2 separate regions of the Homo sapiens genome follow, and region 2 is linked to region 1. Evidence: promoter capture Hi-C in human tissues and cell types (Jung and others, 2019). All regions are on one chromosome and are shown on one strand. Each heading gives the region's core, a stretch centred on a gene start or on the middle of the fragment in contact. The rest is flanking DNA. Distances are from core to core; before and after follow the strand shown. Region 1 holds the start of POLR2L (RNA polymerase II, I and III subunit L). Region 2 holds the start of AP2A2 (adaptor related protein complex 2 subunit alpha 2).

The links. Contacts are between HindIII fragments. The study calls those that stand out against the background at their distance.
Region 2: the fragment with the promoter of AP2A2 here is called in contact with the fragment with the promoter of POLR2L in region 1 in 11 of the 25 tissues and cell types used here (H1 embryonic stem cells, IMR-90 fibroblasts, adrenal gland and 8 more).

The regions. Positions count from the first base shown.
Region 1 is chr11:840,556-843,793 of GRCh38, forward strand. POLR2L (RNA polymerase II, I and III subunit L) reads right to left here and starts at 1,974. Exons shown (of 2, transcript NM_021128.5): 1 at 1,859-1,974. The coding sequence starts at 1,953. TSPAN4 (tetraspanin 4) reads left to right here and starts at 2,297. Exons shown (of 9, transcript NM_003271.5): 1 at 2,297-2,360. RefSeq lists enhancers at 233-977, 978-1,723, 1,724-2,467 and silencers at 1,736-2,365, 2,476-2,565, 2,586-2,815, 2,801-2,969. The HindIII fragment of the contact is 28,886 bases long and covers 1-3,238 here.
Region 2 is chr11:924,208-927,397 of GRCh38, forward strand. It overlaps AP2A2 (adaptor related protein complex 2 subunit alpha 2), which reads left to right and starts at 1,663. Exons shown (of 22, transcript NM_012305.4): 1 at 1,663-1,881. The coding sequence starts at 1,815. RefSeq lists a silencer at 1,475-2,014. The HindIII fragment of the contact is 16,179 bases long and covers 1-3,190 here.

The sequences.
Region 1 (3,238 bases), core at 724-3,223:
CCTCTCACTGCCTGCTGGCCTCACCCCCCCCGCCACCGGCAAGGCGAACAGATTCACCCGGCTCAGAAGCTGAGATCTAGCAGTATGATCCTGGCTGGAGTAACCTGGAAATGCCCAGAACCCTGGGTGGAGCGTGAGGAGCCTCCTCTCCCACCTACTCTGGCTGTACGTGTGTGTGTATAACGTATGTAAGAAATGTAAATGAAATGAAAACGAAGTAATTGCGGGGAGCTTAGAAAACCAAGACCACCAAGGTGCTGATGTGCAGCCACCTCATCCAGCACTGGCCACGGCAGGGTAGCTCTCCAGGGGCCTGCCCTTAGCTGGTTCACCCCCACCCCAGCCAGAGCAAGCCCTGCTCTGCCGCTGTGGGGTCTTTCCTCACCTCTGCTTCCTTCCATCAGAGAGAGACTGCTTCTCCACGGAGCCACCTCTCCCACTTCCCAAGCCAATTAGAAGCTTTCATTTCCCTGGGACCTAGCTCCAGTCACCCTCAAGACCTCCAGAAAACTCCCACACCGATGGCTCCAATGTGCAGAGACACAGAAGCTTGGGAAAGGGGAGGCCACATGGGAGGCCCCTGCCGTTCCTATCCGGGGAAAGGGTCTGGACAGGCCGCCAGCCACTCAGTCTAGCAGCCCACTCGCTTTCCTCGTTTGTCCAGCAAGCTGCACCAAGTGCCGATGGCAGGCTGGCGCACACAAGCCCAGGGCTTCACATGTGACGAAGACTCAGTGGGCGAGGGTCAGACTCCAGCGGGGGCACCAAGACTCAGGCACCGTGGTGACAGCAGCACCAAGGGACAAGCACAGGAGAAAGACGCCTCCCCTACAAAGCCTGATGAGGGTGGTCAGCAAGTCTACCCTGCATTTCTTTTTCTGTGTGTGTGTGTGCGTGAGACGGAGTTTCACTCTCTCTTCCAGGCTGGAGTGCAGTGGCGTGATCTTGGCTCACTGCAACCTCCACCTGCCTCCCAGACTCAAGCGATTTTCTCGTCTCAGCCTCCCAAGTAGCTGGGACCACAGGTGTGCACCGCCATGTCCGGCGAATTAAAAAGATAGAGCCAGGCGCGGTGGCTCACGCCTGTAACCTCAGCACTTTGGGAGGTCGAGGCGGGTGGATCACCTGAGGTCAGGAGTTCCAGACCAGCCTGGCCAACATGGCGAAATCCCATCTCTACTGAAAATACAAAAATTAGCCGGGCGTGGTGGCACACGCCTGTAGTCCCAGCTACTCGGGAGGCTGAGACAGGAGAATTGCTGGAGCCCAGGAGGCGGGGGTTGCAGTGAGCCGAGATCGCGCCACTGCACTCCAACCTGGGCGACGGAGCGAGACTCCGTCTCAAAAAAGAAAAATAAAATAAAATAAATTTCTGGAGATCAGGGTCTCCCCAGGTTGTCCAGGCTGGTCTCGACCTCCTGGGCTCAAGCAAGCCTCTCGCCTCGGCCTCCCAAACTGCTGGGATTACAGATGTCAGCCGCCGCGCCCGCCCGTCCTGCAGCGAGGTTTGCAGGACATGGGGTGGGCCTGGGGGCAGAGATGGGAATAGGGCGGAGGCCAAGGGCTTTACTGCGGGTGACAAGACGCCTGCGACCCGCCAGGCCACCTAGAATCCCCAGGACACCACTGGTTTGAAGCCCAACTCCGTTCTCTTCCCCAGACTTCAGGGGATAAGGTTCTCCCGAAAGCAGATCACAGAGCGGGGCTGGAGAAGCCGGGCCTGAAGCTGCTCATGGGGCGCTGGCCTCAGGCAGCGCTGCGCCTCCCGCCCCGGCGCGCACCCCAGGGCGGACTCAGCCCCCAGCCCCGGCCCGCGCCCCACGGCGGACTCAGCCCCTAGCCCCGGCCCGCGCCTCACCCCTCGGTGTACTCGGCCTGCAGCAGCCCCAGGTAAGCCTCCCACTTGTTGCCGACGATCTTGCCACAAGTGAAGCAGCGTACAGGGATGATCATGGCGGCGGCGCGTCCCAGACTGCCCGGCCCGGCCCGGCCGCACGCGAAGAACCCCCCCAGGCCCCGCCCCGGGCGCGTCCACTGTTGCGGGAGAATCGGCTCCGCTCGTTCTCCGCTGTTCCGGCCGTCCCTCCACCGGCCCCGCCACCGCTGGCCGCAGTTTCCGCCGCGATAGGGGCTTCCCGTGCGTCCCGGGGCTCCTGGGCCTGTGCGTCCCGGGGCTCCCGGGCCCGCGCGGCCGCGGCAGCAGCAGACCGCACACCCCCGCCCACCGTCTTGGTGCATCCCGGCGCTACGGCGTCTGAGCAGGGCCGTAAAGCTGCGGCGGCGGTTCGCGTTTCTCGTGTCCGCTTGACTGACAGCTGCGCGGCGGGAGCGGGCGGCGCGAGCGGGAGGCGGCGGCGCAGGTACTGCGCCTGGGGGTTGTGGGGGCGTGCGGCCAGGGTCCCGTGGCCGGAGGTGTCCGACCGGGAGCGGCTGGAGCCGGACGCGAGCGGGGCGCGCGAGTTCGAGCCCAGAGCCGACACGCAGCAACAAGTGGGGTCCGGCGCGGGGGCTCGGGGAGAGGGCGGGCGGGGGCCGGGGCGGGTCTTCCTGCCGCCCCTCCTGGCCGCGCCGAGTAGTGGGTTCCTCCGCCTCGGCCTCTGCCCGCGGGGTGTCCGGGGCTCTCGGCGCTGAGTTCGGGGGTCCCATTCTGGACGCGGCCCAGCCCCTAGGGGCGCCGCCCTGGCCTCAGCTGCGCAATTACAGCCCCCGCCGGCAGCTCCCCGCCCCGGGCTCCTGTCCGCGTTCTTTCCGCTCTTTCCCGGGAATGGGGTCGGGGTGCGCCCTCCCGGGTCCCGGCTCTGCTGGCTGCTCGCCGTCCCGAGCTCCCGACGCTCAGACGCGCCTCTGAGCACGGGGAGAGGGGACCCGGGAGGGAGGTCGGGGAGGGAGTCGTGGAAGAGGTGCTTTTTGAGCTGAACCTGGAAGACCCCGGCACAGGGGATCCCTGGGCAGACTCCCGGAGGCTGCACTGGCAGGACCCCCTGAAGGCCTCAGCTCTGGCTTGCCCTGGAGCTCAGGGCCTACGGACGACGAGGGACGAGGAGCCCGTGTCTCTCGGATGGAGTGCGGGGGGGCTGGCACCAGCACCCTTCTTGCTGTGCCCCTGGGGTGGGGGTGAGGAAATGGGGGGTCGGTGTGCAGTGAGAGGCAAAGAAGGCTCCTTGGAGGTGCGAGGTGGGCTGTGGGGGTGGGTGGGCCGCAAAGCGGCACCCATGGGGGGCTCTGGGCTGGTTTGCCG
Region 2 (3,190 bases), core at 413-2,912, 83 kb after region 1:
CAATGGGAGCTTGGATTAGGCATGCCAGCCTCCTGACGCCCAGAGCCCATGCTCTGCCCACGTGTGTTAGTGGACGGTCCTCGTGACTGCTGGGACTGTCCTGGAGAGCAGCCCAGGACCCCTCACATGGCACAAGATGCTCTTGTGTCCAGAATGGCCTTTATTTGTTGTCAGGGACAGGGGAGGGAAGCTTCTTGGTGGAAGGGAGAGGCTGAAGAATGAACAGCCCCGGGACCACTTTCTCTGCCAGGAGGTGGCACTGGGAGAGGATAGGGACTCCGGAGGGGTGTACCGTCCTCCAGGAAGCCCTCTGCTGGGTCGGCTCCGTGCCTCTGTCTTGGGAAGTGATGGACTTGGTTGCCTTATGCTGACTGGGGTCTGTCACAGATCTTGGTTTTCCCCAGGAGTTCTGGAGGCCCAGAGCCTGGGTGCGGCACCCGGTTCATTGGGGAGGGGCATGGGTCCTGTGCCCTCCTCCTGGCCGGGCTCCACCAGGGCTAAGCTCTCATCTGGGGCTGCGGAAGTGAGCCAGGGTGGGGACAAAGCCCTGGCTGGTGGGTCTGGGCCAGTTCCAGGTACAGGGTCCAGATCCCCCCACTGCAGCAGGAGGGAGCTTCCTGTTCAAAGCCATCTGGCTCTGGGAAGGACAGTGAGGCAGGGCCATCTGCTTCCCCACTCCCTGGGGTCTCTTCCTGGCCGGGACCTGGAGCTGTGCAGCCTGGCCCAGCAGGTCCTCCCTTGCGATGTGTCCACAGGGGTGGGCCTAGGCCTCCAGCTTGCAGTGGTGCAGAGGGCTGGGGAGCAGAGGGGGCCCTGGCAACAGTGGCCAAAAGTCCTGGCGCCGCCGAGGGACTAGATTCCGCAGGGGCTGCCGCCCCCGGCCGCTGTCACTGGGGTGGGGTGGGTGGTTGTTTCTCTGCAGGCCCAGGTGATGTGGAGGGGGCACCTGGGCTGCCACACAGACCCTGGGCTGGGTCGGGCACGGGGCCTGCCTCGCCCCCAGCTCAGGGACCGCAAGAGATGTGGCCCTGGCGGCTCAGGGCGGCAGGAGGGGCGGGCCAGCCCCACCGTCTCAGGATACCGTGCTAGGGGAGGGTTTCCTCGCCAAAGGCCGTCCAGCGGCTGTGACCCCTTCGCCTGGAGCCCCAGCTTCCTCCCGGCGCCGCCCTCCCGCCCCGGCCCCCGCGGAACAAACAAGGCCCTGGCCTCGGAGCTGCCCCGCCGCCCAGCGCTCACAGGTCGTTTATTCCAAGTAAGAAAACGGAGACTGCTCGGGGCAAGCTAGCGGGGCCGAGGCCCAGGACGAGGCCGTACGCGTGTGCCTGCGTGGCCGCCTCTTTTGCAGTGACCACCAACAACGACAGAGGCGGCCCGCTGCACACGCGGGTTCCCGCCCGGACCCACGCCCTTCCCGTGGGGGACGCGGGCGGCATCGCCAGCTTGGCGCGGCCCCGGGACGCGAACGCGTGGCTTCAGCGGCTCCGTCCATGGTGTCCGCCTGCAGGGGGCGCCCCCGCGCCTGCCTCGACCGGCTCGCCCCCGTGCCGCGGACGCGCGCGCGCTGCCTCACGCGACACCCGCCCCGGCCGCCGTCCGTCGTCGCTCGCGTGCGTGCGCGTGCGTGCTGGTGCGGGCGCCGTACGTGCGCGCGCGCGGCGGCCCAGAAAGCGGCGCTGGGACCCTGAGGCGGCCGTGGTTAGGCGGCTCCCCGGCGGCTCCTCCGCGGCGGTGACGGCGACCGCACTCCCCGCTTCCCGCTCCCCGCGCTCCTCCGCCCGGGTCCGCCAGCCGAGGCCGCTCCCGAGCGTCGGAAGATGCCGGCCGTGTCCAAGGGGGACGGGATGCGGGGCCTGGCGGTCTTCATCTCGGATATCCGCAACTGTGAGTGGCGGGGGCGGCGTGGGGCCGGGGCCGGGGCCGCCGGCGGAGACGGGGTCTGGGAGCGGAGGCCCGGGGCGGGGCCTCGAGGCGGGGGTGCAGGCTGGGATGCGGGCGGGGCCCGGGGCCTGAGGGTGCGGGCGGCGCTCGGGGTCTTGGGGTACCGGGTCTGGGGGTGGGGGCCAGGGTGCGGGGTGGGGGTCCAGGGTCTGGGGGTGCGGGCGGCGCTCAGAGTCTTGGGGTATCGGGTATGGGGGTGCGGGTCAGGATGCAGAGCGGGGCCCTGGGTCTGGGGGTGCGGGGTGGGGTGTCCAGGGTCTAGGGGTGCGGGGTCTAGGGGTTTAGGGCACGGCCCTTCATCCACATCTCCACTCCCGTTTGCTGGTCCGTGCGGGGGGCTGCGGCACCACCAAGGGGGTTCCGGGCCAAGACGCCCCTCCCCAGCATGATGTCACCTTGGTCTTTCTAGTACTGGAGCGTTTAACCCAGCGTTTTCCAAAACGGCGTGGATTTTAGCTTTGGGAGCAGAAATCTGGAAATCAGTGTCTTCCCAGGAAACAGCTTTGTGACCTGGGTTCTGGAGGCTTATTAACCCCTGATTAGATCTCACCTACGACGATTAAAATGACTCATTCCCGGAGGGAATCTGGACACGAGCAGCAGTCGGGGTGTGGGATGGCCTCGCTGCCTGCTGCTCCAATCACAGACCTCGTTCTCAGCCCCGTGCCTGTCCCCTCGGGGTGGGAAAAATCCACACCAAACCGTTAAACAAGCCAGGAAGGCTGGGCCTGTTAGAAGGATGTGCAGGGTGGCTGGGTGGGTGCACCGGTCCACCAATTAATTTGACTTTGGTGTGCAGAACCTCCTCTTGGCTTTCAGAGGCCATCTCCTTATTTAATTTGAGGGAGAAACAAAGCCAGTTTCCTGTCTGCTGCGTTGATTTTTTTCCTTGTTATCCAGCAAATAGTTGACTTCATGATTTTTGTTTTTCTTTTTTTTGAGACAGGGTCTTGCTCTGGCTCTCAGGCTGGAGCGCAGTAGTTCCATCACGGCGCACTCAACCTCCCACCTCAAGTGATCCTACCACCTCAGCCTCCGGAGTCACTGGGACTACAAGCGTGCACCACCACCATGCCTGGCTGATTTTCGTGTTTTTTGTAGAGATGGGGGGGTCTCGCCATGTTGCCTAGGCTGGTCTCGAAATCCTGAGCTCAAGTGATCCACCTGTCTTGGCCTCCCAAAGTCCTGGGGTTACTGGCGTGAGCCACGGCACCCTCATAATTTTTAATGTGTATTTTGAGGGACTGTTGTG